Regions from separate parts of the Homo sapiens genome. Here all the other regions are linked to region 1. The links are contacts of gene promoters, found by promoter capture Hi-C in blood cells and fetal thymus (Javierre and others, 2016). All regions are on one chromosome and are shown on one strand. Each heading gives the region's core, a stretch centred on a gene start or on the middle of the fragment in contact. The rest is flanking DNA. Distances are from core to core; before and after follow the strand shown. Region 1 holds the start of TUBGCP6 (tubulin gamma complex component 6). Region 2 overlaps MOV10L1 (Mov10 like RNA helicase 1). Region 3 overlaps MOV10L1 (Mov10 like RNA helicase 1).

Evidence for each region. The method cuts DNA at HindIII sites, captures the fragments that hold promoters and counts their contacts. A CHiCAGO score of 5 or more calls a contact.
Region 2: a contact is called between a fragment that was not itself captured here and the fragment with the promoter of TUBGCP6 in region 1, in 1 of 17 cell types (neutrophils). The highest score is 8.5, in neutrophils.
Region 3: a contact is called between a fragment that was not itself captured here and the fragment with the promoter of TUBGCP6 in region 1, in 8 of 17 cell types (monocytes, M0 macrophages, neutrophils and 5 more). The highest score is 8.7, in monocytes.

The regions. Positions count from the first base shown.
Region 1 is chr22:50,243,456-50,246,579 of GRCh38, reverse strand. It overlaps TUBGCP6 (tubulin gamma complex component 6), which reads left to right and starts at 1,557. Exons shown (of 25, transcript NM_020461.4): 1 at 1,557-2,861. The coding sequence starts at 2,121. HDAC10 (histone deacetylase 10) reads left to right here. Exons shown (of 20, transcript NM_032019.6): 17 at 204-282; 18 at 488-670; 19 at 753-905; 20 at 1,050-1,397. The coding sequence ends at 1,073. RefSeq lists a silencer at 1,185-1,254 and enhancers at 1,725-1,774, 2,185-2,464, 2,038-2,968. The HindIII fragment of the contact is 66,555 bases long and covers 1-3,124 here.
Region 2 is chr22:50,123,468-50,126,591 of GRCh38, reverse strand. MOV10L1 (Mov10 like RNA helicase 1) reads right to left here. Exons shown (of 27, transcript NM_018995.3): 11 at 1,023-1,200; 12 at 320-390. Among named protein-coding and RNA genes, the nearest start is that of MOV10L1, 35 kb to the right of the region's middle. The HindIII fragment of the contact is 4,552 bases long and covers 1-3,124 here.
Region 3 is chr22:50,150,800-50,153,923 of GRCh38, reverse strand. It overlaps MOV10L1 (Mov10 like RNA helicase 1), which reads right to left. Exons shown (of 27, transcript NM_018995.3): 21 at 3,025-3,124; 22 at 706-879. Among named protein-coding and RNA genes, the nearest start is that of PANX2, 18 kb to the left of the region's middle. The HindIII fragment of the contact is 3,821 bases long and covers 1-3,124 here.

The DNA of each region.
Region 1 (3,124 bases), core at 308-2,807:
TGTGGTACTGAATGGAGCCTTCCTCAGCTGGGGTGTGGGAGAAGGGCTGCTGGAGGCAATGCCAGGTGGGTCTCCAGCACAGAGGCTCAGCAGTCACAGCACCCCTGCCCATGGCCCCGTGAATGCTCTTCCACCTCTGCCTCTGCGGTTTGGGCTCAGGAGGGTGAGCAGGGCCTTACACTTATGCACCTGTGTCCTGGAAGGAGGAGTCTGTGGCTGAACATCAGGGGCAAGGAGGCGGCTGCCCTATCCATGTTCCATGTCTCCACGCCACTGCCAGTGGTGAGTGACCATGCCACGCGGCAAGGCAGGTGCTGGGGAGCCCATGGATGTGTACAGCTGCTGTTTGCTGGCATTGTCATGATAGCAGGCCTCTGGTCCTTCCTGTCTCCCTGCTCCTACTCCAGGGGCCCTGAGATTGGGAGGTTGGGAGGCCAGAGCCAGCAGGTGTCCGTAGATGAGGAGCTGGGCTCTGCTGTCCCCACAGATGACCGGTGGTTTCCTGAGCTGCATCTTGGGCTTGGTGCTGCCCCTGGCCTATGGCTTCCAGCCTGACCTGGTGCTGGTGGCGCTGGGGCCTGGCCATGGCCTGCAGGGCCCCCACGCTGCACTCCTGGCTGCAATGCTTCGGGGGCTGGCAGGGGGCCGAGTCCTGGCCCTCCTGGAGGAGGTAAGCTGGGCAGGGTGGAGGTGCTGCGGGGTGGGACGAGGGAAAGGACCAGTGACTGCTTCCGTCTTCGCCCCTGGTCCAGAACTCCACACCCCAGCTAGCAGGGATCCTGGCCCGGGTGCTGAATGGAGAGGCACCTCCTAGCCTAGGCCCTTCCTCTGTGGCCTCCCCAGAGGACGTCCAGGCCCTGATGTACCTGAGAGGGCAGCTGGAGCCTCAGTGGAAGATGTTGCAGGTGAGGCTGACTGCGGAGGCATGGCCCTGCCCTGGGGCCTGGCTCTGCCGCACAGATCGGTGGGGAGGGCAGGGCAGGGGAGTGCCCTGAACCAGCTCCAGCGCCGGAGGCCAACTGCGCGCCTCTTCTCGGCTCCTCCTGTAGTGCCATCCTCACCTGGTGGCTTGAAATCGGCCAAGGTGGGAGCATTTACACCGCAGAAATGACACCGCACGCCAGCGCCCCGCGGCCGCGATCCGGACCCCAAGCCCACGGCTCCCTCGACTCTGGGGCACGGAACCCCGCCCACTCCCAATCCCCGCGCCCCGCCCTCTCCCACCCGTGCTTCCCCCGCTCCACCCCTCACCTCACCTCGCCCCCGCCCCACCCATCGCGCCCCGGCCCGTCCCATCGAGGCCCATGCAACCCACGCTCGGTCCCGTTCCGGCCCCTGCGCCCCGCTGCGCTTCGCTCCCCGCCCTTGCGCCGTTAGTAAACATCGCTCAAACGAAACGCTGGCTCTGCCTCCTTTACTGAGCACGCTCGGCCTCGGTCTCTCACCCGCGGTGCCGGACTCAGGCCGGAAGTATGCCGCGGCCCAGGCCTCACCAACTTCACGCGCTGCCGGCGTTCCCGTGACGTATTTCCGGCGCGCCCGCCCTAGTGCTCTTCACACTGGCGCGGCTGTGACGCGACGGAGGCGGCGAGAGCGGCAGCCGTGGGCACTTTCCACGGGTGAGGCCTGGAGAACGGGTGGACGTGCAGGCCAGAACCCGGGACCCACCCGGCTGAGCCCCCAGACTCTCCGCTGCCCACGACCCTCGGAGTGGCACCCTCTCCTGGCCGTCTCCTCTCGTGGGTCCCGAAGAACGGGTGCAAAGCCGAGTTCGTCCGCTGTACTGCGCGGGCGCGCGTTTCGTTCTTCGGTTTTGCCACGGTTCTGTGACTCCCTAAAGGTTGAGGGCTACTGAATTAGAAGAAACGCCGAGCTGGCTTCTGGTGGGCTGCCGGGCGCCGGGCAGCGTGCTTGGACTGGGGAGGGCAGGGCGTGTTTACTCTGAGTAGAGCAACCGCAAGACCTCCTTTAAAAAATACCAGTTCTGAGCTTCGGCATTGGAGAGGCCGCCTGTCATTCAGCCTCTTCGGACCCTCTCTCACTCCCTGTCTTCCGGAGCGTGAGTGAAGCCCGGGTGAGGTGTTTTCCCACACGCCGGGGGCCCGGAGCTGAGAAGGGGCATGGCCAGCATCACGCAGCTGTTCGACGACCTGTGTGAGGCCCTCCTGCCGGCTGCCAAGACTCACCTGGGCCAGCGCAGTGTGAACCGGAAGAGGGCAAAGCGGAGCCTCAAGAAGGTGGCCTACAATGCTCTTTTCACAAATCTTTTTCAAGATGAGACTCAACAGCTGCAGCCTGACATGTCAAAACTACCAGCGAGAAACAAGATCCTCATGTTGTCCTTTGACTTGAGAGTGGGTGGCCTGGGCCCCAAGGCCGACCGTTTGGAGGAGCTTGTGGAGGAGCTGGAAGCAGCCCCTTGCTGTCCGCTTTTGGAGGTGGGGTCTGTTTTGGACCTCCTGGTTCAGCTGGCAGGGAGTGGTCCCCCTCAAGTTCTGCCGAGAAAACGAGACTACTTCCTTAACAACAAGCATGTGGGGAGAAACGTTCCGTACAGCGGCTATGATTGCGACGACCTGAGTGTGTTTGAGATGGACGTTCAGTCTCTGATCTCCAGAGAAGAGTGTTTGTGTCACAGCATGATCCAGGAAACACTTCAGGTTATGGAGGCTGCTCCAGGCACTGGCCTGCCCACCGTCGGGCTCTTCTCATTTGGTGACCCTTGTGGTGACAGGTTCGAGAGAGACACCCGGGTCTCGCTCTTCGGGGCCCTTGTGCACAGCCGCACTTATGACATGGACGTCCGACTGGGCCTGCCCCCCGTGCCAGACAATGCGGACCTCTCTGGGCTGGCTATTAAGGTAGAATGTTTAGTTTTTCCTCTTTCATCTCTCTCGGGGTTTGGAAAATGCTTCCTGTGACCTTTCTTCTTCTTCTTCTTCTTCTTTTTTTTTTTTTTTTTGAGACAGTGTCTCACTCTGTCACCCAGGCTGGAGTGCAGTGGCGCGATCTTGGCTCACCTTAACCTCCACTTTCTGGGCTCAAGCAATTCTCGTACCTCAGCCTCCCGAGTAGCTGAAATTACAGGCACCTGCCACCACGCCCGGCTTAATTTTTTTTTTTT
Region 2 (3,124 bases), core at 423-2,922, 120 kb after region 1:
TAGGTGTATTTTTCCTTTCAAGGCCTCCACTCTGCGAGCTCTTCTGGAATACATTCAGAATGCCCAAATACAACTCAACGCAAACCTCATGACTTACATATAACCTAAAAGATAAATATGTTTTACATGGTTGAAAATTATAGTATTAAGTTTCCTTTATGCATCAAAAATTATTTAAAGATTCACTGTATCTTGACATTTTCCAAAATAGCCAATGCATATGGGAGCATCTCCCCAAGAGCCGTGGGGAGAACGTTACCTTTCCAACCGGTCAGAAGGGTGTGTCTAACACAAACTCATTAAGAGAGAGTGCTCTCACCTCAGTCACGTAGCTGATGTATTCGATGGCATGTCCATTGTACTCTTGAGTTTTTAAAATCAGTTTATCACCTAGTTAAAAAATATATTACCATGTTTAAAGCTAACACAAAATCACAAATTTCTGTGCTGTCCTATAAAATCCAACACTGAGGAGGTTCAATAAAACGTTACTGGGGTCAGGCTGGGTGCAGTGGCTCATGCCTGTAATCCCAGCACTTTGAGAGGCCGAGGCGGGCGGATCACAAGGTCAGGGGATCGAGACCATCCTGGCTAACACGGCGAAACCTCATCTCTACTAAAAATACAAAAAAAAAAATCAGCCGGGTGTGGTGGCGGGCGCCTGTAGTTCCAGCTACTCGGGAGGCTAAGGCAGGAGAACGGCGTGAACCCGGGAGGCAGAGGTTGCAATGAGCTGAGATTGCGCCACTGCACTCCAGCCTGGGCGACACAGCGAGACTCCACCTCAAAAAACAAACAAACAAACAAACAAAAACATTACTGGGGTCAACTGCTTACAACTAATGAAATACAACAAAGAAACATGCTTGATGTACATCGGTTGCTGATTTTTAGTGAAATTCTAACCCAAAAGAAAGAAAATGCGATAATGTGACTGTCATATTGCCAGTTAAAGAGTATCTTCTCTCAAGTATGGTTTCTCTGCTAGTCCACCCAGGGAAGCATATGAGTAACAAACACACCTGCGTAGAGAGAAGGCCTCCCTTCGGCCAACCCTGGGACCTCCAGAACCAGCAGATCCCCATTCCTTCTTAAGATGATCCCGCTCATGTTATACTCTTTCAGTTCCATTTCTGCATAAATCTCCTCAAGCCACAGCAAAGTCGAAAACTTCTCCTTGTAATTTGACATGTTCAGAAGCTGGAAAACACCCAAATGTTATAAAGTCAGCAACAGCTCAGCAGCACTCTGGAAAGTAGCAGCTCCGGAGCAGGAAAGTTCCAACAGCTCCAGTTCAGCAGATGGCCCCCCAGGTGGGGCGATCCTCGCCGGAGTCTGCAGGTGCCTCAGTAAGTTCCCCGGCCTTCAGCACGAGGGCCATGGGGCTCCAGCACACTCCCTGGCCTTTGGCATGAGGCAGTGGGGCTCCAGCTGGCGGTGTCCCTCCCTGCACTGCCCACTCCTGTCCACCCTCCCTGCTCTTTTTCAGGTTGTCCACGTTAATTCTGGGAAGGCAGAATTTGGCTTCCACAGACATCTGTGAAAAAAGGACAAACTTCCAGGTCTGGCCAAGGTGGACTAACAAGGACCAGATTTACCCTTCTACCTGAAAAAAACTTAAAGAGACAGAGAAATAAGAAACGATGGTGTTTAAACAATGAACATCACGTAGCAAAGGATTGTGATCCCAAGACTGGGGAAACAATCCATGGGGGCCCCATGACTGATCCACCTGTGCCTGAACAGAGCTCCTAGGCCCCAGCACAGAGGACCCAGGGATGCTGCATGGTTTCTAAGGAGAGGAGCTCTGATCTGTGGGGCTGAGCGCTGGGAAGAGCAAGCAGCACAGAGTGGTCTGGAGAGGGTCAGGGGACCCACTCAGGACCATCAGCTCAGCACTAAGGAATGCATGAGACACCATCCTGCAAAACCCATTGAGGGGCCAGACCAGGGCCTCAGCATGAGGTGGGGGAAAACTCACAGCAGCCTGCCCGGAATTGGAAAGTGGGAGGGCAGAAAGTGCGTCTGAACACATGGTGGCTGAAAATTTCCAAATCTGAAGAAAACTCAAGGCCGCATATTCAAGAATCCCAATGAACCCCAAGCACAAGAACAGGAAGAAAAGAATCTCTACCACCACACATCGTAAACCAAATCTATTAATATCAGTGATAAAAGAGAGAATCTTAAAAGCAGCTAAGAAAAAACAACGTTATGTGCAAAAGAGCAAAGATAAGAATTAAAGCAAAAGAACCCCATAAGAAAAACTAAAAAATACTTAGGAGATGAATAAAAACAAAAACACAATACAGCAAGACTTATGGGAGCAGCACAAGCAGTGCTGAGGGAATTTGTGACTATGAGCACTGATTCCCATGAGCACTGCAAGGAATTAGACAAAGGAGAACAAACTAAACCCAAAGATAGCAGAAGGAAGGAAATAAAGATTAGAGGAGAGATGAACAAAAGAGAGAACTGAAAAACAATACAGAAAACCAGGAAAACAAAAAGTTGGTTCTCCAAAAAGATCAACAAAATTGACAGACTTTTAGTAGATTAACTAGAAAAAAGGGAAAGACAAATTACTAAAATAAGATAGGAAAGTGGGAACATTACTACAGAATCTACGGAAATAAAAAGGATTATAAGAGTATGAGCAATCGTATACCAATACCCAGATGAAATGGACAAATTCCTAGAAACACAAAACCTACCAAGACTAAACCATGAAGAAAGAAAATCTGAATAGACCAATTACTACTAAGGAGGTTAAAGCAGTAATAAATATTCTGAAAAGGAAAACCCCAGGACCTGATGGCTCCATAGCTAAATTCTACCAAACATTTGAAGACTAACTAATACCAATCTTTCTCAAACTTTTCCAAAAAATTCAAGAGGAGGGAATACTCTCTGACTTATTCTTATGAGGCCAGCATTACCCTGATCCCAAAGCCAGACAGAGACACTTCAGGAAAAGAAAACTACAGACCAATATGAACACTGATGAAAAAATCCTCAACACGATACTAGCACACAAAATTCAGCAGCATATGAAAAGGATTAGCTGGGTGTGGTGGCTCATTCCTGTAGTCCCAGTTACTTGGGAGACTGAGGTGGGAGGATT
Region 3 (3,124 bases), core at 341-2,840, 93 kb after region 1:
GGAAGGGGCACTGGCACCAGGGTTCCCCGTGTGGCCCGGGTGCAGCCCTCACTGCAGATACCTTGAATGCCCCTTCTTCTGGGGCAGGGGGTTAATGCAAAACTTGATTTCTGCTCTAACTAAACTCCTAATACAAACTATCTCATTTTAGCGAATGCTTGTAATTTTGCTTGGTCACTCAGCATCTAACTCTGTCCCTCTGCGAGGCCTTGGAGAGGGGGTGGTGGCCCGTCACTCCTCAGGCCCCAGGCGCACGGCTCGGGATCGCAGCTGCTGCCTTCCCTGCCGGGCTCTCTCCTGACAGCTCCAACCCTCGAGGGAAGCACCGGGAGGGAGGCGGTGGTGGCCTCTGGGAGCTTCCTGCGGCCCTGGGGCGTCCCCAGCCACATGGCCCTGCGAGCTTCCCCAGGCCCTCCAGAGCTCACTGGGCAGCTTCGCTTCTCTTGGAGCCCAGTGCTTGTCTGCTGTGACCACCTGAGAGTGGTGCCTGTGATGCCTCCTTGGTGCCAGGCACAACTCATCTGGCAGGAGAAGTCAGCATCCATCTTGGGGGGCACAAGCCCCCGATGGCTTTTCACTCTCTGGAGACCAGCAGAACATCTGCCCCGCCACAGGCAGGTGACAGAGCCTCACCTGGGAGGAAGGACCTCCTGCCATACTGTCCTTACCCGACACGGTCACCTACGGATTCAAGACACAACTCACCCGCACACCATGGAAGATGAGAGGGAAGCCTTTCTTAGGCAACTTCTCCCAGCCCAGCAAGGAGGTCACCACTGTGGGGTCCGCACAGACCTCGAGTTCCCTGTGGTAGAACAGCCGTGAGGGCAGCATCAGCAGGGCCTCGTGGGACCGGTAGTTCTTCACCAGCTTTGTGACCTGCGAGGAGATGGTGATGGGTCACAAGGGGAAGGTGGTACCCGGCACAGTTTCTGTCGAACGAAAAGCGGCTCTGCACAGCAAACGTGAGGCCTGCCTGACTTCCAAGCCTGACTCTGCTCCTGCGCCCCTGTGTGTCGCCTGCCCCCAGACCAAGCCCTTGGATGATGGTCAAGCCAAGGGTCCATCTGAATAGAAAATGGAAACATCAGGAAGAAAAGGGTGTGACGGCTGCCCTCTGTTCCTCTCCTGGGTCTGGGTGCCGCTGAGGGGCCTCTTAAAGGGCTCCTGCCACCTGGAACCCAGCAGCCGGGTGGAGGGCAGGTGGATGCCTCCCTCGTGTGCTGAGAGCTTCACCCTGGAAACAGCATCTTGTTGGCCCACACAGCCCTGCCTCCGCTTGGCCACAGGGAAGGAAGAGCTCCTGGGCCCCTGGGCCAGGAGAGCATAGACACTGTGACTCTGGGGGCCTGGCCAGCCCTGGGCGGGCCTGGCTGTGACTTCACTGATGCGGCTGAGGGTGACTGTGATATCACCAGTACATGGGACACCTTTACTGTCTGCCTCCAACTTGCTCGGGAAGCTCACTCAGGGCAGGTGCTCTTCCCCTGGTGCTGGTGTAAGCAGCCAGAGAGGGTCTCCAGCGACTACAGGAGTTCAACCAGTCAGAGCAATGCTCAGTCTTGACCCTGCTCATCACGTGACCCATGTATTGGCATGAGGACTCGCTGCGTCTGTGCCGCGGGGAGCCGTCCTCTCTATGCAATGCTGCACCCTCTGCCCTCCTGTCACTGACTGTCCCTCGGGGAGACACTGCTGGGGAGAACAAGCCTAGGGCTCTCCCTCCTTGGGATGAGTTAACAAAGCCCCTGTTGGTGAAAACCTGTGTTCCTGCAGTGCTGTCTGTTACTCGCCAGATGACACTGGCACGAGAACGCCATGATTGGCCCCGTGAGTCCTCCCGACTCTGTCAAGCCTAAATAGAATGTGTCCAGCCTCCAACGTGCTACTCCAAACTCCAAATGTGATCTAGAGTCACGGCACCTCTGCCTTAGCTGGACATGGGCAGCTGCTGGGGAAGAGAAAGGAAGCATGCAGCCTCCTGGGGTCACTGTGGCAGCCGCTCTGGTTGGAGGGTGCAGGACACTGCCCAGGCCCCACACAGGACAAGGCCTTCACCTCCCGTGCGGCAGGGTCTTTCTGTACCTGTGGCCCTGTGCTGTATGCACCTGCCCTGAAGGCTGTGTGGTGGGGACGGCAGCGTGCTGGTCTCTCCTGCTGCGGCCACGTCACCTGCACCCACACCTCCAGCAAAGCAGCTAGCGGGTACAGGCGCACAGCGGCACTGGAGGATGAGGCGAACCTCCGGGGGACAGCAGAGCTCTCAGGCGCCCTCTGGGCCCAGCAGCTGCTCACGGCCGGCCATCTTCCTGGGGGCAGTTTCATGGCCTCCTGGCACAGCCGGTCCTGTCTTGCGGGTAGTCCCTCATGAGGCCTTCCTTGGCCTGAAGACCCCCACCTGCTCCCTACCCTTGACAACCAAGAATGGGGTCCAGTCCTTTTCCCTGAAAGTCTGCCCATGGTAACTGCCCCTCATTTTCTATTGATGTTAATACTGGCAATGGGAATCAGATGGAGACTGTTTTTCTGTGGGCTACAGGGGCTTACAAACTGAGGCTACTTGGTTCACTGTTGAATGATGGGCCCTGGAGGCCCAAGCTCAGTGTGCTGGGGGCTCCAAAGATGCAAATCCCAAAGCCCATCCCTCAGAATTTGGTGCAAGGTTGGCTGAGAGCCCAGACCTGCACTTCAGTGGGACCTTGGGGTCAGAGACCACTGAGGAGACACTGCCTGCAGTCACTCTAGGGCAGGCTTTTTAAGTCACAAAAATTATTTCTTGCTTTTCTTAACGTTAACAGAGTAACACAGATTTTAACTTATTTTACTGAATCTGACCCCAGAGTCTCAGCCATCAGCACCAGGCTGCAGTTTCTGCTGACGGGGGAGGTGCTATGGTGGGTGCTCCCCTGCACTCTGCCCACGGATGGAGATGACTCAGGTGGACAGAAGAGTGAGCTGCTCGACTGCCCTGGAGCCTGTGTCTGCTTAGCTGGGGACCTGAACGCGCTGGAGTCTGTGACTCACCAACAGGGGATTATGTGCGCCACAAGCACCGAAAGCATTTTCGTCCCTCTGGTACGCGGGTCGAGACATCAGCCGTTCCAAAAAGGACACGTTCAGCCCA